Regions from separate parts of the Homo sapiens genome. Here regions 2, 3, 4, 5, 6 and 7 are each linked to region 1. The links are contacts of gene promoters, found by promoter capture Hi-C in blood cells and fetal thymus (Javierre and others, 2016). All regions are on one chromosome and are shown on one strand. The core of a region is centred on a gene start or on the middle of the fragment in contact, and the rest is flanking DNA. Distances in the headings are between cores, read along the strand shown. Region 1 holds the start of CA14 (carbonic anhydrase 14). Region 2 overlaps PIP5K1A (phosphatidylinositol-4-phosphate 5-kinase type 1 alpha). Region 3 overlaps MINDY1 (MINDY lysine 48 deubiquitinase 1). Region 4 holds the start of LOC105371438 (a long non-coding RNA gene). Region 5 overlaps SETDB1 (SET domain bifurcated histone lysine methyltransferase 1). Region 6 overlaps SETDB1 (SET domain bifurcated histone lysine methyltransferase 1). Region 7 overlaps ARNT (aryl hydrocarbon receptor nuclear translocator).

What was found. Contacts are between HindIII fragments. The CHiCAGO score rates a contact against its expected background, and 5 or more counts as called.
Region 2: a contact is called between a fragment that was not itself captured here and the fragment with the promoter of CA14 in region 1, in 1 of 17 cell types (neutrophils). The highest score is 5.6, in neutrophils.
Region 3: a fragment that was not itself captured here is called in contact with the fragment with the promoter of CA14 in region 1 in 9 of 17 cell types (fetal thymus, total CD8 T cells, total B cells and 6 more); the score reaches 11.9 in fetal thymus.
Region 4: a fragment that was not itself captured here is called in contact with the fragment with the promoter of CA14 in region 1 in 5 of 17 cell types (fetal thymus, endothelial precursors, naive CD8 T cells and 2 more); the score reaches 8.6 in fetal thymus.
Region 5: a fragment that was not itself captured here is called in contact with the fragment with the promoter of CA14 in region 1 in 1 of 17 cell types (naive CD8 T cells); the score reaches 5.3 in naive CD8 T cells.
Region 6: a fragment that was not itself captured here is called in contact with the fragment with the promoter of CA14 in region 1 in 1 of 17 cell types (fetal thymus); the score reaches 6.3 in fetal thymus.
Region 7: a contact is called between a fragment that was not itself captured here and the fragment with the promoter of CA14 in region 1, in 1 of 17 cell types (erythroblasts). The highest score is 5.7, in erythroblasts.

What each region holds. Positions count from the first base shown.
Region 1 is chr1:150,256,245-150,259,372 of GRCh38, reverse strand. It overlaps CA14 (carbonic anhydrase 14), which reads right to left and starts at 1,599. Exons shown (of 11, transcript NM_012113.3): 1 at 1,190-1,599. The coding sequence starts at 1,244. RefSeq lists an enhancer at 2,715-3,128. The HindIII fragment of the contact is 8,593 bases long and covers 1-3,128 here.
Region 2 is chr1:151,241,875-151,245,002 of GRCh38, reverse strand. It overlaps PIP5K1A (phosphatidylinositol-4-phosphate 5-kinase type 1 alpha), which reads right to left. Exons shown (of 16, transcript NM_001135638.2): 13 at 2,734-2,880; 14 at 2,436-2,565. Among named protein-coding and RNA genes, the nearest start is that of PSMD4, 11 kb to the left of the region's middle. The HindIII fragment of the contact is 1,047 bases long and covers 1,124-2,170 here.
Region 3 is chr1:150,998,881-151,002,008 of GRCh38, reverse strand. MINDY1 (MINDY lysine 48 deubiquitinase 1) reads left to right here. Exons shown (of 10, transcript NM_001376665.1): 3 at 227-284; 4 at 695-759; 5 at 1,394-1,552; 6 at 2,045-2,147; 7 at 2,498-2,640. Among named protein-coding and RNA genes, the nearest start is that of MINDY1, 6.5 kb to the left of the region's middle. The HindIII fragment of the contact is 1,422 bases long and covers 833-2,254 here.
Region 4 is chr1:150,979,022-150,982,149 of GRCh38, reverse strand. LOC105371438 (a long non-coding RNA gene) reads left to right here and starts at 645. Exons shown (of 3, transcript XR_922135.3): 1 at 645-729; 2 at 837-946; 3 at 2,064-2,192. It also overlaps a transcript of ANXA9 not described here. The HindIII fragment of the contact is 1,084 bases long and covers 1,058-2,141 here.
Region 5 is chr1:150,947,856-150,950,983 of GRCh38, reverse strand. SETDB1 (SET domain bifurcated histone lysine methyltransferase 1) reads right to left here. Exons shown (of 22, transcript NM_001366418.1): 11 at 1,706-1,862; 12 at 1,459-1,617; 13 at 1-526. Among named protein-coding and RNA genes, the nearest start is that of SETDB1, 23 kb to the right of the region's middle. RefSeq lists a cis regulatory region at 948 and an enhancer at 876-1,020. The HindIII fragment of the contact is 252 bases long and covers 1,365-1,616 here.
Region 6 is chr1:150,926,805-150,929,932 of GRCh38, reverse strand. SETDB1 (SET domain bifurcated histone lysine methyltransferase 1) reads right to left here. Exons shown (of 22, transcript NM_001366418.1): 2 at 1,959-2,229. The coding sequence starts at 2,218. Among named protein-coding and RNA genes, the nearest start is that of SETDB1, 2.0 kb to the right of the region's middle. The HindIII fragment of the contact is 3,618 bases long and covers 1-3,059 here.
Region 7 is chr1:150,830,362-150,833,489 of GRCh38, reverse strand. ARNT (aryl hydrocarbon receptor nuclear translocator) reads left to right here. Exons shown (of 22, transcript NM_001668.4): 9 at 1,091-1,156; 10 at 1,587-1,672. Among named protein-coding and RNA genes, the nearest start is that of CTSK, 24 kb to the right of the region's middle. The HindIII fragment of the contact is 1,247 bases long and covers 856-2,102 here.

The sequences.
Region 1 (3,128 bases), core at 350-2,849:
ACGCAAAGGCTGAGGGTCTGCAGGTCCAGCCCCTCCCTACGGCCAAACTGCCTCAAGAAGAAAACGAAGGCCTTCATGGTTTATGCTGCAATATTCATACTACTAGAAACTCTGGAGAAAAATCCTAAATTCCTTCCTCTCTCTGTCTCTTATTCCCTTAAATTCCTCAAACTTGTGAGATGTCCTGCTCTTATCCTTGACCTATTCTGCTAGCCCAAGGGAGAGCTGGAGGCAGCCTCTCATTTTACCATATCTGTGGGACCCCCCAACAACTCAAACTCCCTGGTCTGTAAAGGTGCCTGTCCACTCTGGTCAGAGCCTCAACACACTTATTCTGTCTCTTCCTCCTCTTTCCCTCTTTTTTTCTTTCTCCTCAGATGAGATTTGTGACTCTCCATTTGGCTGCCTGCCTGCCCCCATCCTCTCTGCATTTGCCTTCTGCTCTCTGGACACCCACCTCACCCTGCTCTTTCCACAAACCTCAGTTACACACCTAGTATGTGCTGGACACTGTGCTAGGCACAGGAAACACAAAAATGAGGTCTAGGAGTTCCTGGGGACACTCCTGGAGCGCTTCAGCCTGTTCTCCCAAGAATCCCTCCTCATCTCCTGGGAGCTCCTGAAAGTCCTTTGTAAACTGTAAAATGTCAAACAAATGTTGACTCTTACTGCCACTTTCAGAGGATAACTGGGGAGTTAGTCGCTCCACAGAATGAAGAGGGAATCTTGGCCAAAAGGGGATGAATTGGAGATCAGGGTCTGAGTTGGGCAGGAAGTATTCTTCCCCCTACCCCCATCTATCCATCTTTTTACTCCAGGCCTCTTTGACTCCCTATTTGGAGGAGTTTGTAAATAAAGAAGTCCAGGAGTCCTGCCTGGGACCAGGGCAGTGGGGGAAAGAGCTCTGGAGAAAATCTGTAGCCTGCAAAGAGATTCCAGCACTTGCATGTGTACACACTCTGCCTGCCTGCCGCTAGTTCTCCCCGACCTCCAATAACAACAAGGCTGGAGAGACAAAAGGTAAAGAAGGGAAGTGGTCTCCTCCACACCCCACTCTTTTTTCCTCATCTCTGAGCCTATTATTCCAGCCTCTAGGCTTCCTTTCACACCTCTCCTCCCCCCATTAAGCACACCTGGCGACATGTGAACATCAGCACAAATCCACACACAGACATTTAGTTGTACCTACCCCCATCTGCAGCCAGGATCCAAATCACCTCCAGCAGGAGGGCGGAGAACAACATAGTGTCCCAGGAAGGGGTGCAGGGGACTGGGAATTTGAGGACTAGAGGACTAGGACAGGCAGAGAGAGAGGGAGGGAGGAGTGAGAGAGAGAGAGAGAGAGCGAGCGAGCTCCTGGCGTGAGTGTATTTATCTCTGCTTCTCTTGCTGTCTCTGTCTCTGTGGGCTTCCAGGGGATTCGGTGTTCAGTAGGGTATCATGGGTTTCTGGATCCCCAGGACAAATCTCTTGCTGCCTCTTTGCCCTCTCTCTTTATCTCCCTCTGCAGTCTCCACTCCACTAGCTGGCCAGCGACTTTACAACTGCCTCCTGCTTTTAAGGTGGCTCTGAACTGGTGTATGTGGGGACGGGGGTGCTGCCTGGGCTGCTGGTGAACAGCTCCTTAAATAGCCAATTAGGCATGCAGGATGGCCCCACTCGGAGCTGGAGCGCGGCAAGTTTCACTGGAGCCCTGGCCCTGGCTCAGGAGCCCAGCTGGGGTGAGCTCTTCCTTCCTCTGCTAGTCACACAGATGCTGTTTAGATGGGTGTTCCCTGGAGCAGGCAGGGTCAAGGAAGGGGCTTTGGGGTTCAACTCAGCCCCCTCAAAAGGACACTGTATTTTCATCCCCCCGCCTGATTTCTCCTCTGAGGAGCAGCTCCCTGGGTGGTATGCGGCAGATGGTGGGGGTACCTGTTCCCAATTCCCTGCATAATCTGAGCTGCCCTGGAATGGGAAGAGTCCAGAATTAGGAGATATATAACAAGAAGGAATTAGGGACTCAGGGTGCAGGGGAGGGGTGGAGGAAGTCAATAACTAAAACCTGAGTTGTGTCCTAAGTTCTAAGGAAGAGAAGTGAGGCAAGGAGAACTCATCTGGAGCAATCTCTTCTGTGCCTGCCACCACCCCCTTCCCACGGTGAGGCCTGGGTCCACGTGCCTGTGTGGCCTGGGGTGGGGGGAGTGCGGGGAGGGAGCGTTGTTTGCTGGATAAAGCCCATTTGTATGCCCAGTGGGGGAGGGGTGTAGCAGCACCATGGAGAGACAGCGGCTGTAACTGCCAGACCCAGCCACCTCCCTCTCCAGGGAGCCCAGATCTAGGGCGGCTTTTGTCACTGAAGAGGACACTGACCTCCGGCAGAGAGGCCAGGGCAGGAGGAAAGGAGAGACTTTAGGAACAATCACTACCACCATCAGAAAAAGGTGGTTTCCAGAGAAAGAGAGGGGAGGGTCTGGAGAGACCATGTGATCCAGATGGAAGAGGGGCTCAGGGTCTTCCTTCCAGCCCAACAAAGGGCTGAGGCAGGACATGTGGCACTGAATGAAACCTGCCACCAAGGAGCTGCGTCCGTGGAGCATGGAGGCTGCACGTCTCAGGAATGTGAACTGATGTTTGCTCCCCACGGGACTGGAAATCCCGATTGGAATGTACATCCTAAATCCCTCGTTAGAGAATGTGAAACCCACAGATACTTTCAAGCCAGACATTGAAACCTCTTTCTCCTCCATGCTCTTCACCAGAGGCACCAGCCAGGAGGATGCACCCATCTGAAGCTCCCTCTGCCCTCCTTGCTCCTGCCGAGTAGCAATAAATAGCCAAACAAAGGGAGCAGAAGCTAAATAAGGGAGCAGGATAAAAGCCAAATGAACAGAATAATGCATGTGCTGGATCATCAGCTCCTGCAGAGACAGGAGCTCACTGTGCCTTTCTATCCCCTGTGATTGATCTGCAAAGCCAAGCCATTTTGCTGATGTCATTTCCCTTTTTCTTCTCCTATCACCCTCTGAGTTATTTGTCCCCTTCAGGAAAGTTTTATGTTTTGAGGTTCCCCAAAGCCCCATCCATCCCATCTAAGAAGAGTAAAAGACTTGAAGTATAAATTAGATTTCCCGGGAATCAGGGTACTT
Region 2 (3,128 bases), core at 398-2,897, 990 kb before region 1:
GGAGGATTGTTTAAGACCAGCCTGGTTAACACAATGAGACATCTCTACCAAAAAAAAAAAAAAAAAGGCTTTTGAGCAAGGATAAGCTCCAGAGCACTGCCAAGAAAATGTGGTCTAAAGATGAAGGCAAACATATGACTGTGAAACATCTTATTAAGACCTCAGAAAAACAAAAGGTATTGGTTCAGAGTATAGTCATCCCTCAATATCTGTGGGGGACTGGTTCCAGGACCCCTCCTTGAATATCAAAATCCACAATGCACAAGTCCCTTATATACAATGCTATGGTATTTGCATATAACTCACACACATCCTCCATATACTTTATTTTTATTTATTTTTCTTTTGAGACAGGGTCTCGCTCTGTCACCCAGGCTAGAGTCCAGTGGCGCGATTTCGGCTCACTGCAACCACTGCCTCCGGGGTTCGAGCGATCCTCCTGCCTCAGCCTCCTGAGTAACTTGGACTACAGGAACATACCACCACGCCTGGCTAATTTTTTTGTATTTTTGGTAGAGATGGGGTTTCGCCATGTTGCTCAGGCTGATCTTAAACTCCTAGGCTCAAGTAATCTGGCCGCCTCTACCTCTCACAAGTGTTGGGATTACAGGCGTGAGCCATCACGCCTGGCCCTCCATATACTTTAAATCATTCCTAGATTATTTATGATAACTAATACAATGTAAATGCTATGTAAATAGTTGTTATACTATATTGTTCAGGGAATAATGACAAGAAAAGTCTGTACATGTTAAGTACAGGCCTAACTGTACAGTACATATCAGCAACAACATAACATTTTCACGACTTTTTTTTTTTTTTTCAGTATTTTTTCGTTTCTTTCTTTTTTTTTTTCAAAGGGATGGGGTCTCGTTATATTGACCAGGCTGGTCTCAAACTGCCTCAAGCAATCCTCCCACCTCAGCCTCCCAAAGTGGTGGGATTACAGGCATGAGCCACCACACCAGGCTCTCAAGTATTTTCAGTCCACAGTTGGTTGAATCTGGGATGTGGAACCTGTGGATACGGAGGGCTGATTGTGCTATTCAGTCATACAAAAGGCTGTTCAGAAGATTATGTTTCACAGATCCTTTCAACCGAAAAACAGAGTCTGTAAGAAGCTTAGGTCTCATAAAGAAGATATTTATGAGTGTGGCTTTTGTCTAATGGAGTAAATCCCAAGGAGAATCACAGGAGGCCCACAAAATCTTCTGTATCAGTAGAAACACTGCCATCTTGGATCAAAAAGGACAGAAACAGTACAAAATAGAGACCACTAGTTCCCCTAAAATTCTACTGGAAAGAAGCAGCCTGAGAAAAGAACTCAGGTAAAAACACACTCTAGCTTTGATGAAAAAGGAAGACTCAGAAGACAAAACCAAGAGTCTAGAGGGTAGAGCCAAGAACCACGGAGAATTATTCTTCTGCTTTGAGGCCTGATAAAAGAAACTCCAACATTTCCTGGATTTTGGAACAGCAAATAAAATCAATGACTCCTTTTTGTGCCTCCCATTCTCCCCTTTTATGTACAGAAATGTGTATATTGGTTATCTAATGCCTGTCTCACCATTGTATGCTAGGTACATGGGGAAAGGATAACTTGTCTCTTTGGTTCCACAAGTTCACAGATTGAGAAGAACTGTACTTGAGGAGCTGTGCTTAAGGAACTATACCTGGGGGGCTCATCCAACCGGACCTAATTTAGGTAATAAAACTCTGGACTCTGAGCTAACGCTACAATGGGATGAGACCCTGGGAGGGGGTCAGTGTATTTTCGACATGGAGGTATGTAAATTACTGGAGACCAGAGAGCAGACTATGACAGGCAGTTTCTAAGATGGCTCACAATGATCCCTGCACCTCCTGGTATTCACACCCATGGGTAATTCCTTCCTCTTGAGTGTGGGCTGCATTTAGTGAACAGAATGTAGCACAAGTAGAATGTCAATTCTGAGATTAAGTTATAAGAGGCCATGGTTTCTGCATAGGCACATGCTCTCTTGTTCACTTGTCAGATAGCCCAGGTGCCATGTTCTGAGCTGTCCTATGGAGAAGTCCATGTAGCAAAGAACTGAGGGAAGCCCCCAGACAACAGCCAGCAAGGAACTAAGGCCCTCAGTTCAGCAACCCACAAGGAACAGAATCCTACCAGTAACCACATAAATAAGCTTAAAAGCAGATCTTCCTGTTTGAGCCTTCAGATGAGACCCCAGCCCTGGCCAACAGCTTAAATGCCACCTCATGAGAAATCTTGAGCCAGAGGACCCAGCTAAGCTGGGCCTGGATTCCTGACCCACAGAAAGTATGATATATGTTTGTTATTTTAAGCCACTAATCTTTGGGGTAATTTATTATGATGCAATCAAATTATAGAGGTTTCCAAGGACTTGAAAAGAGAGATAAGATTATATGGAGAAAGGGGCCAATAAACCAACCTTGTAGTTAGCATTTGCAAAGTCTCTCCAACTAGAGGTGAGAAACTGGGGTCAGGAATAGGCGAGCCCTCACTGATTTCCTCCAAAGGTGGAGTCTGAGGTAAAACATCAGGACGACCAAGGTGAACGCCTGGAAAAAAGATAGAGAAGATGGGGTACAGTAAATACAAGGAAAAATATGTAGCAGCTAGGCTTCCTGGATAGAAATGGGAGCAGAGGTCCTGGCCAGACAAGATAAAGGCTCAGAAGGAAGGGAGGGAGTACCCAATCACATGGGGACCCCAGCCCTAGCGCTGACCTGGCTCCACTTCTGCCTTTGTTGTCACTTGTGCCTTGTGTTCCCCAGAGACCGATGGCTGGTAAGTAATGCAGGAGTTGCCACTGGAGCCTGCTCGCCGAGAGAAAGATGAGCCAGACCGAAACTTTTTGGAAGGAGAAGGCTTCACTTCAAAAGGGAAAGAGAGAGCCTACTTAGCAACTACCTTAGCAACTATTACCAAGACATAGATACAAATAATTGCTAGTATCCCCAACACACACCCAAAGTTGGTCTGAAAAGTGAAAAGGCTAATGTCAACAAAGACAGGCCTATGAATTACTATTCAGAGAACAAGGTGTTAGCTCACTTCACTTTCCAAGAGGCATGAAAACCTAGAAGAAAGGAAACATATCCACACCTAACCCCCCAACATG
Region 3 (3,128 bases), core at 294-2,793, 740 kb before region 1:
AAACAAAGAAAAAAAAAAAAGAGGAAGATCTGTCCTACCCCTGTATCTCCTACTCCCTAGCAAATGCACATGCCTTGCAAGATTTCACATTCATTCCCTTGTGCCAGTTGCAAGCCTTTTTTCCTACCCCACCCTACTACTGGAGCTCCCCCTTGCCTTTCCATGGGTTCTTCCTTCAGTGCTCTTTGGAGGAAAGCACACACGTGATCACCCCTTCTGCCTCCAGGTGAAGCTCCCCCCGCAGAAGGAAGTGATCACATCGGATGAGCTCATGGCCCATCTTGGTGAGTGACTGGGCGTTGAAGAGGAATTACCCAAGGGGCTCCAGAGCTATCCACTCAGCCAGAAATCCAGACTATTCAGGGATCTCCATTTGGGGGTTCTGATACAGCAGGGAGGGTAAGGGTCTATGGGGCTTCTCTGCAAGGCTGGAGAATGAAAAGCAAAGGCGTCGGGAGTCCTGGGTTGTAACACCAATTCTGCCCTTAGCTTTTGTATCTGACCCTGGGTGGGCCGTTCACCTTTATGAGGCTGTCGCCTCCTCTGAGAAATGAAGAGTCTGGATTAGACTCTAAGTATTTTCCAGCTCTGAAAATCTGTGTTCTGTGACATTACCCGCATTCTCCAGGAGAAGAGGAAACTTAGCTTTTGGGATGATTGGTGGGGTAAGCTGATAAGGGGCCCTGTCTTGTAGGAAACTGCCTCCTGTCCATCAAGCCCCAGGAGAAGTCAGAGGGACTTCAGCTTAATTTTCAGCAGGTGAGGCAAAAGGTCTGCAGGCATAGGGGTTTGCAGGTTTGTAAGGGGACATCTTGTAATACTAAGATAAGCTTTTGTTGCTTCTTCAGAGGTTTCCTTGAACCATGATTTCATTCTGCAGGAGTCAGAGGAGAGTTTATCTTTGTCCTAGAAAATATGTTCATTGGCCGGGTGCTCACACCTGTAATCCCAGCACTTTGAGATGCCAAAGCGGGAGGATCACTTGAGGCCAGGAGTTCGAGGCCAGCCTGGGCAACATAATAATACCCCTGTCTCTAAAAAAAACCATTTTTTTTTTCAAGAATTAGCCAGGTATGGCGGTGCGTGCCTGTAGTCCCAGCTACTCAGGAGGCTGAGGTGGGAGGGTCACTTGAAACCAAGAGTTTGAGGCTGCAGTGAGCTAGGATCACACCACTGCACTCCAGCCTGGATGAAAGAATTAGACTTAGACTCTCAAAGAAAAACAATGTTCATTTATATAAGATAGAGAAGGGTTGAGGCAAGGGAGAAATGGAGTGGCTTGTAAGAGAATCAGGGAAGAAGAGCAGCAAGGTTAATTTTTAATTTCTGCAGGTGGGAGTGGAGTGGTGGGAGAGAAGGCTAGAATCTCCATCATTTTTTTTTCTACCCCCAGAATGTGGATGATGCAATGACAGTGCTGCCTAAACTGGCCACAGGTCTGGATGTCAATGTGCGATTCACAGGCGTCTCTGATTTTGAGTATACACCCGAGTGCAGTGTCTTTGACCTGCTAGGCATACCTCTGTACCATGGCTGGCTTGTTGATCCACAGGTGAGGGTGGGAGGGCCCACTGGGACCTTATCCAGCTCAAGCTGACATGAGAGAGGCAAATTTTTGTCGGGTAGAGGTTAGGGAGTTAGGGGTTAGATTGGCTTGGGAGGGAAATAGTGTTTAGAGACTGGACCCAGTACAGAATTCCTTGAATTTTAATCTATTTTGGGGGTAACATGCAAATACAAGCAAACTACATGCAAATAGGTCAGTTCTTTAGACATCAAAAATTCAGGAAGCAGATGGGTTTGGTGGCACATGCCTGTATTCCCAGCTACTTGGGAGGAGTTCGAGGCCAGTCTGGGCAACATAGCAACCCTATGATGAATGGTTCCTGAAATTTTTTTCTTTTTTGAGAGACCAAAAAAAAAAAGTGTTTAGGAACCATTCATCACAGGGTTGTAGTCCTTGTGAGCTTTGTTCATTTCCTTCCTTAAAAAAGAAAAAAAAATCCCAATTTTTTTGGTATCCCACATCCCACTACCCAAGCAGAGTCCTGAGGCTGTGCGTGCAGTTGGGAAACTGAGTTACAACCAGCTGGTGGAGAGGATCATCACCTGCAAACACTCCAGTGACACCAACCTCGTGACAGAAGGTGACATTCCTCCCCTTCTCATGGATAGTATGTGGAGGGAATGACAGCTACTTAGGCTTATTTTTTATTGGGTGTCATCTCCTACCACATCCCACTAGATATAAGCTTCACAAGAAGGAGCTTGGGGAATTTCTGTTTAGTTCATTGAGGTATCCCCAGTGCCTGGCACAAGGTAGCTGCTCTATTATAAGTATTTGTTAAGTGAATGAATACAGCCAGGTTTCAAGAAAGGGACGTCAGAAGGTGGGACTGACCCCCCGGGGCTTTTGACAGGGGCTCTCTGGATGGTCCTTCCTGTTGTGGACCTTGAATTTAAGCCAAGTTTCCCCCGACTCGTCCCTTTCTGGCAGGCCTGATTGCAGAGCAGTTCCTGGAGACCACCGCGGCCCAGCTGACCTACCACGGACTGTGTGAGCTGACAGCAGCTGCTAAGGAGGGTGAACTTAGCGTCTTTTTCCGAAACAACCACTTTAGCACCATGACTAAGCATAAGGTAATGCGAGTTTGGGGGTGGCGTGCTGCGGTGCTGTCATTTCCTGGTGCCTTTTTCTCGTGGGTCCAGCTGGGATCAGCTAGATTAAGCCGTGGTAGCAAGTGACCCCTCAAATCCCTGTGGTTTACCACAACAAAGGTTCATTTCCCGCTCCTGGTGCGTGTCCACTGTGGACTGGCTACGGTTCTGTCCCACACCATCTTCACTCTGGGACCCAGCTGACAAAAGATCCTTTATCTGGAATATATGTGGGAACAGAGAGAGAGAGGGGCACTGTGCACTCATGCTTAGAGCTTCTGTTTGGAAATGACACATGTCATTTCTGCTCACATCTTCTGGCCAGAGCAAGCCATAAGGGATAAGCCTGCCGTCGATGGGACAGGAAAGTATGATCCTCCCCTAGGAGGGGGCAGTGGAATTTTTAAACAATGCTGGTCTTCAAAAGTTAGAAACTGCCAAAGCTCTCTAGGATTTGAGCAGCAGAGGGA
Region 4 (3,128 bases), core at 350-2,849, 720 kb before region 1:
CCTGCCCAGCATCTCTTCTCCCAGGAACTGGGCCTCAATCCATGTGAGTGAACTCCACTCAGCCTCTCAGCGGCTCAGCCTCAAACACAGGAGGCTTTTATGCACTGCCTTCCCTGTGGGTCCAGGTGGGACCACAGAGACCTAGTCTCAAAGTCCAGCTTCTGACCTGGCTCTGCCCCAGCTTCTGACCTGGCTCTGCCTCTGGCTCCAGCTCCCTGGGGGGCAGGTCAGACAGGCTGCAGGCTGATTTCAAGGCTGATAGGGAAAAACCTGTTGGGGCACATACCAGCAGGGCACCCCAGCCTGCACCCCAGAGGGGGTCCCAGCCCAGAAACTCCCTTGACTGCTGCCTTACTAGAGCCAGCTGACCTAGGTGGAGAGTGCCCAGGGATTGTGTATATCTGTGGAGAAGGAAGGGCACAAGTATTTGGGAGTGGAAGTTGATGAACAGAGTCAAGAGAGAAAAATGCAAAGGGTGTTACCTTCAGAGGGAAGCTCTATGCTCCCAAAAGGCAACAGGGAGATGGGGGAGGCTCCCTTGCCTGGTTTCTTAGATTGCTTCTGTTGCCTTTTGGCAGCCTGGGCCCTGTGGCTGTTTTAGCTGCAGGTGATGCAACCCCAGCAGCTGGACTTGAGGCTGTCTCTGCACAGAGCAGCAGGTGAACAGCCCTGTGGAGCCCCCGCCCCGCCATGCAGCAACTGCTCCAGCCTCACAGCTGGCTCCCTCAGGTCTAAACACAGCCTCTTTCCTGCCTCCCTGGAGAGCCTGGGTAGGGGCGGGGCACAGAAGCTACAGCCCTGCCTCCACTCACTCCTCTGCCTCTCTCCCAACTCAGGAAGGCCTTCACTGGCATTCCTACATCCCTGGAGGAGGGACCTGCAGTGGCTCCACCACACTGAGTAGACCATGCCGGAGGACACGCCATGAAAGGATATTTCTGTGGCGGTAATCACTGCTCCTCACTTTTCTCTCCTGTTAAAAGGAAAACATGCACCTGTGTCAGAACTGGAGAATGAGGGTTCAATATCCAGCTCTGCCACCTATGTTCTGTAAGCTTCGCTAGTCCTTTCAGCTCTCTAAATGGGAGGATTGAGAGAGACGGAGGCTGTGGGACATGCTGGGGCCTCCGAGGACAGGTTTCCTGGGATGATTAAATGAAGTAATGTGTCCACTAAAGAACTTATCCATGTAACCAAACACCACCTTGTCCCCAAAAACTATTGAACTCATAAAAATAAATAAATAAATAAATAAATAAATAAGGTAATGTGGCCAGGCACGGTGGCTCATGCCTGTAATCCCAGCACTTTGTGAGGCCGAGGCGGGTGGATCATGAGGCAGGAGATCGAGACCAGCCTTGGCTTACACAGTGAAACCCCGTCTCTACTAAAAATACAAAAAATTAGCCGGGCATGGCGGCGCATGCCTGTAATCCCAGCTACTCGGGAGGCTGAGGCAGGAGAATCACTTGAACCTGGGAGGCAGAGGTTGCAGTGAGCTGAGATGGCGCCACTGCACTCCACAGCCTGGGCGACAGAGTGAGACTCCGTCTCAAAAAAAAAAAAAAAAAAAAAAAGTAATCTGTGTAATTGCATGTGGCAGAGAAAAGTGCCCTGTAAAGTAGGGGTATTAGATTAAATAAATAAATATACAGGACATGCAGCTTAATCAGAATTTCACGTAAATGAGGAATCATTTGTTGGTACAAGTATGACCCAAATATTTCATTAAATATACTAACATTTTTTTTTTTGAGGCGGAGTCTCTCTCTGTTGCCCAGGCTGGAGTGCAGTGGCATTATGTTGGCTCACTGCAAGCTCCACCTCCCGGGTTCAAGCGATTCTCCTGCCTCCGCCTCCCGAGTAGCTGGGATTATAGGCGCCTGCCATCATGCCTGGCTAATTTTTTGTATTCTTAGTAGAGATAGGGTTTCACCATGTTGGCCAGGCTGGTCTCGAACTCCTGACCTCGTGATCCACCTGCCTTGGACTCCCAAAGTGCTGGGATTACAGGCGTGAGCCACCGCCTGTAATTATTATTTTTTGTTTATCTGAAATTATAGTTTAACAGTGTGTCCTGTATTTCACCTGACAACCCCAAAATGGAACTCAGTCTCAGCGTGGTGGCTAAAAGCAAAGCTTCTGGAGCCAGACTTCTCAGAGTCGGGATTCTGGTCTTCTGTGTGACCTTGGGCAACTATTCTGTGCTCAGTTTCCTCATCATCAACAGACAAGTAATAGTGTTTATGTTATAGGTTGTTGTGAGAATTAAATAACTACAGTGCATATAAAGCACTTAGAAGAGTTCTGGGCACAGCGCTGTTAAGTAGAAATGTCACAATGTTATCAAATATATAACGATAAGTATTGTTATATGGTAACTGTTACTGTTGTTATTACTTACCTCCTTAAGAATTCCGATCTTGGCTCGCTTCTGAAACTTTTCTGGCCAATCCCCAAAATGGCCACAAGAGGGCGTCAGCAGCCACTGAGAGTCTCGAGCCCCCTAGTGGCCCCTTGAGGTCTCTGGCTCCAGCCCCACATATTAAGGGGCTGTCTCAGCCCACTTGGGAAGTGCAGCCTCCTGAGGACGCCAGGTTCCTGGGTGGAATTGGTATGCAGGTAGCATCAGGGGAAGAGCCTCAGGTAGATACCTACTCAGGGGAGCCCCCGAGGCTGACCTCAGACACATGCAGGAGACTGGGTGACCGCAGTTAGGCTGGGTAAACACGGTACTGCAGCTCCGCAGCCGGGGTCCCCCTGGCCCTCGGCTTTCTGTACCCTTCAGAGTTTCTTCTGGCTACCTGCCCAGCAGATTTAGGGAGAACCGAAGGAAGCGTGAGGCCTCCTGTTTCCTCACGCCGAATCTCTCCAAGGGGCTCCTGGCCGGCATGCCAGGCTGAACTCTGAATTTGGAGAAGTCCAACAGAGTCTCAGTCACATGGCAGAAGCGAAGTCCTTGCCTGTGAGGAGTGTGTGTGTGATGCGTTCACAATCGCTGCATTGAAACCTGCTACAAACTCATTCCTCTCCCTAGGTTTTGTTTTGTTCAACTTCAGGGCCGGATTGCAGTTGTTTACAGTTGTACTGATCACCTTCCTTCCCCATGTTGTACATTTTAGAATTGC
Region 5 (3,128 bases), core at 241-2,740, 690 kb before region 1:
TGGAGGGGTTGTGTCAATCTCATTGACACAGGATAGGGGAACATCTTCCTTCCCATAAGTGATGTCCAAAATATAGTAAAAAGGCTTATAGGGCTGAAACTTTCGGTCCACAAGAACATATGGATCCAAACAGAACATCTCCAGGAAGAGGAAGTCACAGCCAGTCTCGAAAAGGTAGCGTTCTATCTCCTGCATTGTCCGAAGGCAGAGACCACAAGGTGTCTTATAGATAACATGAAAGCCCATCTTGCGGTTAACTCGACGCCGGGCTGTCATCCGCCGGAAGTCATATAGTAACGGGACCAGCAGAGGGTTCTTGCCCCGGTACTGCTCATTCCTCATAGGTCTGACTCGAGACAGACAGGTATAGCTGCAGACATGAGGTAAGTAGAAAAGCTTCTCCATGGGAGCACGGTAGGAGGGCTCTGCTGGGGCCCGCTCCAGCATGCCATGGAAGACTGGGGGTGCTGGAGGGGCCGGGAGTGCTGAGGGTGCTGGGGCAGAGGCTGTGGAGCCTAAAGGTGATCTGCAAATGAGATGCAAGTGATCAGATCGGAAGGCAACAGGACCTCTGTTTTATAATTAACCCTCCAGGTAGCTAAGCCATTTCTCTCATCTTTCAAACAGCTGTGCTCCTGAAGCTAAAGATGATTCAAGAAAGATCTTCCCTTGCCCTACCAAACCTGGACAATGAAACTCCCTGGTTACTCTTCACTGACTGATAACATCTCTATTTCTCTTTTTTTTTTTGAGACAAGTTTCGCTCTTTTTGCCTAGGCTGGAGTACAATGGCACGATCTTGGCTCACCACAACCTCTGCCTCCTGGGTTCAAGCGATTCTCCTGCCTCAGCGTCCTGAGTAGCTGGGATTACAGGCATGCGCCACCACGCCTGGCTAATTTTGTATTTTTTAGTAGAGACAGGGTTTCTCCATGTTGGCCAGGCTGGTCTCGAACTCCCGACCTCAGGTGATCCACCCGCCTCGGCCTCCCAAAGTGCTGGGATTACAGGCATGAGCCACCGCGCCCGGCCTAACATCTCTATTTCAACAGTATACCTTTTCCTAAAATGTATTTGCCTGTGAATTATGGAAGTAGAATCCAGTCTTCTACCAATGTTTTTTTGGTCTGCTGCGTGTTCTAAAAATGTCCTTACTAACTCCAAGGAAAGAGGCTGTGGTGTTTCCTTTCTATTTTAGCAATGATGGCACCATGTTCAACAAGAAGTTTTAACAAATGGCTTTCAGATGATACCATATTTCCAAGCACCCAGCTTCCAATTCAATTATTCTTACTTTCTATTTCTTAGGAACTTCTATGGGTAAAGCTTCCTTTTCAAGTCCAAACTCCTCACTATCATAAGCTTAAACTAAGCCCTTCGCTTACAGCCAAGGAACCTTCCCCTACACAGTGACCACTCATTGCTATCCTGCCTACAGAGAGCCTCAGATTTTCTCACCTATATGTCTGGTTGATCCCAGGTTTCCCACCAGAGACATTTTCACTGAGTGCAGGAGATGTAGGGGAGGAATGACCAGAGCCCACAGATCCTGGTCGAAAGGACGTGCTCTTTTTGGCTACCTGCTTCCGTGACTGGGCAAGCTGGCTTTCCAAGCTTCTAGGAGATTAGAGAAGAGGGCATATAGTAAGGGATGTGGAAAATATAATATGAAAGAAACTGAAGAAAAAGAAAGAATAACACTCACTCACTGTCACCTGCTTGGGGGGATAGAGGTGGAGCAGGTGGGAAAGGTGGGGCAGGTGGAGCTGTAGGCTGTGGGGGTTCCACTGGCTTGAACTGGGTTCCAGTACCGGTCAGATCCTGTGTGTACTGGACAACAGGGCCTTTGCTCCTCACAGCACCTATAGGAAAAAGGAAATTGAGCACTGAGAAGATGATAGCTATGACGCTTGTATTCAGTCACACATCTGATCCTTAACTTATACAATATAAAAAGGAAGCAATGGCTGGGCGCAGTGGCTCTTGCCTGTAATCCCAGCAGTTTGGGAGGCCGAAGTGGGCAGGTTGCTTGAGGTCATGAGTTTGAGACCAGCCTGGCCAACATGGTGAAACCCCGTCTCTACTAAAAATACAAAAATTAGATGGGCATGGTGGTGCACATCTGTAATTCCAGCTGCTCGGAAGGCGCAGGACAATCACTTGAAACCAGGAGGTGGAGGTTGCAGTGAGCCGAGATCACATCACTGTACTCCAGCCTGGGCAACAGAACAAGACTTCGTCTCAAAAAAAAAAAGCAGCAATGGACACATTTTGAGTAAGTGCTTAGACTCTCAGTTCCCATTATTGACTGGCATGGACGCTGGCATACATTGTTTTTTGACTTAGATAATACTTTTTCTTTTATTAAAGTGAAAGCAAGTTTATTCACAAAGTAAAGGAATAAAAGAATAACGGCCAGGCGCGGTGGCTCATGCCTTTAATCCCAGCACTTTGGGAGGCTGAGGCGGGCAGATCACCTGAGGTCAGGAGTTCAAGACCAGCCTGGCCAACATGGAGAAATCCCGTCTCTACTAACAATACAAAAATTAGCCTGGCATGGTAGCAGTCGCCTGTAACCCCAGTTACTCGGAAGGCTGAGGCAGGAGAATTGCTGGAACCCGGGAGGCGGAGGTTGCAGTGAGCTGAGATGGTGCCACTGCACTCCAGCCTGGGCAAAAGAACCAGACTCCATCTCAAAAAAAAAAAAAAAAAATTGCTACTCTGTCGGCAGAGTAGCCTCTTTTTTTTCTTTTTATAGACAGTGTTCCACTTTGTTACTCAGGCTGAAGTGCAGCGGTGTGACCTTAGCTCATTGTAACCTTGAAATCCTGGGCTTCAAGCAATCCTCCTGCCTCAGCCTCCAGAGTAGCTAAGGCTACAGGTGCACACCACCACACTCAGCATTTTTTTTTTTTAAGAGATAAGAGTCTTTCTATGTTGCCCAGACTGATCTCCAACTCCTGGCCTCAAGTGATACTCCCACCTCAGCCTCCCAAAGTGCTGAGACTACAGACACGAGCCACCATGCTGGGCCTTAGATAAGACTTTATATCTTCCTATCTCAGATGATTTACCTAATTATGTTATACTTTGGGGAAATATTTTCAGAAATATATTCTTTAACCAAC
Region 6 (3,128 bases), core at 1-2,500, 670 kb before region 1:
CAGTAGAGGAATTAAGAGATATAGAATCCATTACGATGTATATATATTTAAGTATAGACAGTCCTCAATTTAAATGGGCCACATTCCAAAGTGTCTCTGTTTAGAATTTAGAATGCTTTTTCTATAGAAAAATGTTTTAAATAGTGGTTTAGTTTCCAGACTAGTTCCTCAAAAATCCAAAGTAAGCCCAAAGTACAGTACTTTCACCCTTACCTCATTATTTACCTTGCTGTTATCTGAAAATGTATCCTGGCTGGCAGTGGTGGCTCACACCTGCAATCCCAGCAATTTGGGAGGCTGAGGCAGGTAGATCACTTGAGGTCAGGAATTTGACCTCCCCAGCCTGGCCGACATGGTAAAACTCCATCTCTACTAAAAATACAAAAATTAGCCGGGTGTGGTGGCACACGCTTGTCGTCCCAGCTACTCCGGAGGCTGAGACAGGAGAGCTGCTTGAACTCGGGAGGCGGAGGCTGCAGTGAGCCGAGATCACGTCACTGTACTCCAGCCTGGGTGAGACAGAGCAAGTCTCTGTCTAAAAAAAAAATAAAATAAAATAAAAATAAAATAAAAAAATGCTCATTATCAGTGGCCATCAGAGAAATGCAAATCAAAACCACCATGAGATACCGTCTCACACCAGTTAGAATGGCGATCATTAAAAAGTCAGGAAACAACAGGTGCTGGAGAGGATGTAGAGAAACAGGAACACTTTTACACTGTTGGTGGGACTGTAAACTTGTTCAACCATTGTGGAAGACAGTGTGGCGATTCCTCAAGGATCTAGAACTAGAAATACCATTTGACCCAGCAATCCCATTACTGGGTATATACCCAAAGGATTATAAATCATGCTGCTATAAAGACACATGCACACGTATGTTTATTGCGGCACTATCCACAATAGCAAAGACTTTAAACCAACCCAAATGTCCATCAATGATAGACTGGATTAAGAAATGTGGCACATATACACCATGGAATACTATGCAGCCATAAAAAAGGATGAGTTCATGTCCTTTGTAGGCACATGGATGAAGCTGGAAACCATCATTCTGAGCAAACTATAGCAAGGACAGAAAACCAAACACCGCACGTTCTCATTCATAGGTGGGAATTGAACAATGAGAACACCTGGACACAGGATGGGGAACGTCACATACTGGGGCCTGTCGTGGGGTGGGGGGAAGGGGGAGGGATAGTATTAGGAGATATACCTAATGTAAGTGACACCAACATGGCACATGTATACATATGTAATAAACCTGCACGTTGTGCACATATACCCTAGAACTTAAAGTATAATAAATTTAAAAACAATGTATTCTAAGTGACAACTAGAGCACCAGAAACAAATCTTTTGGGGGTATGGGAACTTACTAATGCTTCAGAGTTACGTAAGACAGAAATTCTTTACAATCCTCACTCCCTGGATGATCTTACTAGGGAAATGAAGCAATTGTTCTAAGATAGAGCACAGGAGGAAGAAGGGGAAAGGACTTAAGACTTGGACTCCCTTACTGCTGATCATGTATTAGCTGCTGACAGATGAAAATTATATTTACGGCTGATTGTAAGGTCAGATTTTTGACCATAAACTTTGAGGAAGAGTAAGGTTCTAAACATCTGTACTTCATAAAGTATAAAATGTTTGGTACACAGCCTGGCCAACATGGTGAAACCCTGTCTCTACTAAAAATATAAAAAATTAGCTGGGTGTGGTGGCGGATGCCTATAATTCCAGCTACTCGGGAGGGGGAGGTGGGAGAATCACTTGAACCCGAGAGGTGGAGGTTGCAGTGAGCCAGGATCACTCCACTGCACTCTAGCTTGGGTGACAGAGCGAGACTCCGTCTCAAAACATAAAATAAAATGCTTGGTTCAATGTCATGAACAATTATTCTCTAAAAACATCTCCCAATGGAGAGATTTCCTTCTATTTTCCATGGAGTTCTCACCTGGATGCATCATCAAAGAGTTGGTCAACGTGAGCCACCTCAGATTCTTTCTGTATTACCCATGTCTCTAACTCTGCTAGCTGCTTCTTGCGTTGCTGTACACAATCCATCTTCTCCAGTTCCTCATCGATGAAATGCCGAAGTTCCTCCATAGAGATACCCAGTTCCTCAACCACTGCCTGTTGCAGCTCTGCAATCTCTTCAGACTCCACTGTAGCTGTTGCTGCATCCAAACCAATGCACCCAGGAAGGGAAGACATGCTTTTGTCCTCTGCATGGAACAGAAAACAAATTAAATTGGAGTCCTTATAACTACAATCAATCAATAGAGAATTTCAGTTCCCTAATAAAACTAATTCCTACTCTGCTGCCTGTTATTCTATTCAAATATTCCATGTTCTCCCTCCCTATTCTCCAGAATCTGATGCTGAGATTTTTAAGAGTTCTTATCTTCTGCTGTACGCTAACACTCCTGAAAAAGATTTAAGAGTTTGAGACGGCATGGAGAACATTCATTAAGCAGTAGAGAGCTACTGAAAATAATGTTTTGGGCTGGCACAGTGGCTTACACCTGTAATCTCAGCACTTTTAGAGGCCGAGGCAGGAGGGTCGCTTGAGGGCAGGAGTTCAAGACCAGCCTGGGCAACATGGCAAGACTCGTCTTTACAAAAAAATACAAAAATTAGCCACGTGTGGTGGTGCACGCCTTTAGTTCCAGCTACTCAGGAGGCTGAAGTGGGAGGATCGCTTGAGCCCAGGAGTAGCTGCTGTAGTGAGCTATGTTCGCGCCATGCATTCCAGCTTGGGTGACAAAGTGAGACCCTGTCTCAAAACAAACCGAACTTTAAAAATAATCTTTTGGGATACTGAAGAGAACCAATCTATAAGATATTTTTGTGGTCTATATGTGTTCCTTAACTAATGTGATAAATCTTTGTATGCTATGCCTAATTTAAACAAAACCCCACCTGGGGATGGAGTTGATTTGGAACTCACTAACTCAGTGTTTTCTCTTTCATTACTTGTTCCCCTTATATTACTTTGCTTCCATGTGGAATTTTACTTTTTAAAAAGTCTATGATATTCAAACACACGAAAGCTTGCAGCAAAAAGGTTTCCCCCAAAGTACAGAGAAGTAAAGCAACCTGGGAATAAAACGTGGGTACCTAA
Region 7 (3,128 bases), core at 230-2,729, 570 kb before region 1:
GACAGAGTCTTGCTCTGTTGCCCAGGCTGGAGTGCAGTGGCATGATCTTGGGTCATTACAACCTCTACCTCCTGGGTTCAAGCGATTCTCATGCCTCAGTTTCCTGAGTAGCTGGATTGCCACCACAGCTGGCTAATTTTTGTATTTTTAGTAAAACAGTGTTTCACCATGTTGGCCAGGCTGGCCTCAAACTCTTGACCTCAAGTGATTCGCCTGCGTCAGCCTCCCAAAGTGCTGAGATTACAGGCCTGAACCACTGCACCCAGCGTGTAATTTAGAGTAGCTTCTAGACCCAGACTGCTGGATTTTGTTTTAATCCATATTCTATGGATTTGAATTCTAGCTTTGATGCTATCTTCTGAAACCTTGGATGATTACATGACTACATTGTGCTTTGATTTCATCATCTCACATTGGCGATAATGTTAATACTGACTTTATAAAGTTGTTATGAAGATTAGATGAATTAATATATGTAAAGATATTTAGAACAGAGCATGACACATATTAACCCTATGTAAGTTTTATTTTTGTTTTAAAGGATAGGGAGAGGGAAAGTAGCATTGGCAGGAGTATCCCAATATGTGGACATGGCTAATGCAAAGACATAGGCAAGAGCAAGATAATAATGAACTGTAGCAATTACATTAAGTTGTGGTTAATGTAGAGCAGGAGTAAGCAAACCACAGCCCTTTATTTGTAAATAAAGTTTTATTGGAACATAGCCATGCCCATATTTTTACATATTATCTATGGCTATTTTCATGCTATAATGCTAGAGTTGACTAGTTGCAACAGACTTTCTGGCCCGCAAAGCTGAAAATATGTACTATCTGGTCCTTTACAGAAAAAGCTTGCCAACTCTTGATGTTGAGAATGTTTGCATATGAAGAACATATGGAACATTTTGACTTCAAATTCTAAAAGTTTTAGAAATACTAAACTTGACCTATCTTTATCCTTCATTATTAGTAGCATTACCAATTTTCTATGTCTGGTTGTATCCAGAGCATGTTATTCTGCTATTACTGTGGAAAGTTCTTTGATAGGGCAGTCTGATTGCTTTTAATCTCTTTATTCCTTGAAACAGGTGTGGCAGTAGCTCTGTGGACCCAGTTTCTGTGAATAGGCTGAGCTTTGTGAGGAACAGATGCAGGTGAGATCCTAAGTGGTGAAAACCAAAGGGATGGCCAAATACCTGCAGAGATCATCACATTTTTACCTGTCTTACTGTAGTCGTTCCTTCAGCAGCTCTCACTTGCATCCCTTACCTCCCACTTAACATCCCTTACCTCCCACTTACTTTTTTTCTGGCAATATTTTCCTAAACTTCTAAAACTTCTCTTGAAAATCCTGTTTAAGGAAGTCGCTATGCTATTTTACCTACTTTCCTCCTACTGCATACCTTTTGGTTACTTTACTTTGGCAAGGGTAAAAATGTGGCGGTCATTTTTGGGTGGGAAAGATGATTATCCTGTTTTCTAAACTCCTAAGAGCATAAACTTAAAAGTACTAAGGCAGCATTGCCCTTTGAGTTTTACGGGTAGATTTTTTTTTTTTTTTTCAAACTCCTGTAACTCTTCTAGGAATGGACTTGGCTCTGTAAAGGATGGGGAACCTCACTTCGTGGTGGTCCACTGCACAGGCTACATCAAGGCCTGGCCCCCAGCAGGTAAGAAAGTGAAATAGTAAATATTTCCCCTTGGTACAGTTGGTTCCTCACAGAGTCCATGAAAGCTAATATTTATTATATACCTGGTATATGAAATGTACTTTTGTGTAAGATGAAAGAAAATAGGAAAAGAAAATGTACAATCCTTCCCTTCCATTATTGAGCTTTTATTCCAGTTGAGGAGATAGATAACTCAGGCTGGAAAATGATTCAGTATTGGCTGTGTCACAGAATGTGGTTTTTATGTGAACAAATTTATACTGAACATATGTATTCTAAGCATTTGTTGCAAAGAAACTTAGACATTGAATGCAGTTAATTTGAGAAAGATTTCTAAAGTAGGAACAAGACTTTGAGAGAAAAGGGGAAAATGCCTTTATTGTAATAACTTATCAAGAGGATATTCTCTGCAAAGACTTTAAATCAAGCTTTGAGCAGATTAGCTTTACCAGAACTTGAGGTCAAACAAGGAATGTGAGAAAGGTGATTGGGTTGCAGGATCAAAGTTTTAAGTTGGCTTGTCAGAGTTTCCAAATCTTAGCAACTTTATTACTTCCCTGCTGCCTGGGTATTATTGGAAAGTAGGGGTTTTGGGGAGACAGAAACTAAGAGAAAAGAGAAGCAAGGTGATGTGTTTTGGAAAAAGGTTAAACTTTGGATGTGGAGAAACCTGGATGTGATTCCTGTCATTGTTACTTATTAGTGGCATCACCTAGGGTAAGTTGCTTGACCTTTATAAAGCTCAGTTTTCTCATCTGTAATTCAGAGTTAGTACATCCTGTATAGGGTTTTTGTGAGGATTAGATTTAATGTAAGGAAAGCATCCAGCCCAGTGCCTGGCATATGGCAGGTAACCCAATAAAAGTAATTAATGTAATTTAAAAAAATTTAACTGAAGTAGTAATGACATTTGAACTACTTAGTCTATATACTATATAAGCCACACAGTTAAAGTATGTGATCTTTCATACCTCTATGTAGCATCAAGGAATACTATTTTTCTGGATAAAAAGAGTATAACTATGCAAAAAACAGGGGAGAAATGCAGTCTTCTTCCCTTTCTGTGTAAAACATTGGTTTTTCTCTTTTCCAAGGGACATGAATAACTATTGATGGTTGGTATAACTTCATTTTGGGTTGCTTGCTAACTTTAAAAGTTACAGATTAGGCAAAGCATAAATTTTCTGCCTATAACATGGTCATAGAATGGATGTCTTCATATGTGCCATATTTGGCCAGCATAGTTTTTTAGAGTACTCTGGGTAGGACTTGTATTTTCCAGTTTACTATAATTAACATGGGTAAAATGTAGGAATTAATATATATGTAAATACTTAAAACAATGACTGGCATATATGGTAAGTTTTATATACTTGTTTATTCTTATTTATCATTCTCTATTGCTTTATGCTTAGCCTCTTCATAACTAGATGTATTTTGTTTTGTTTTGCTTTTT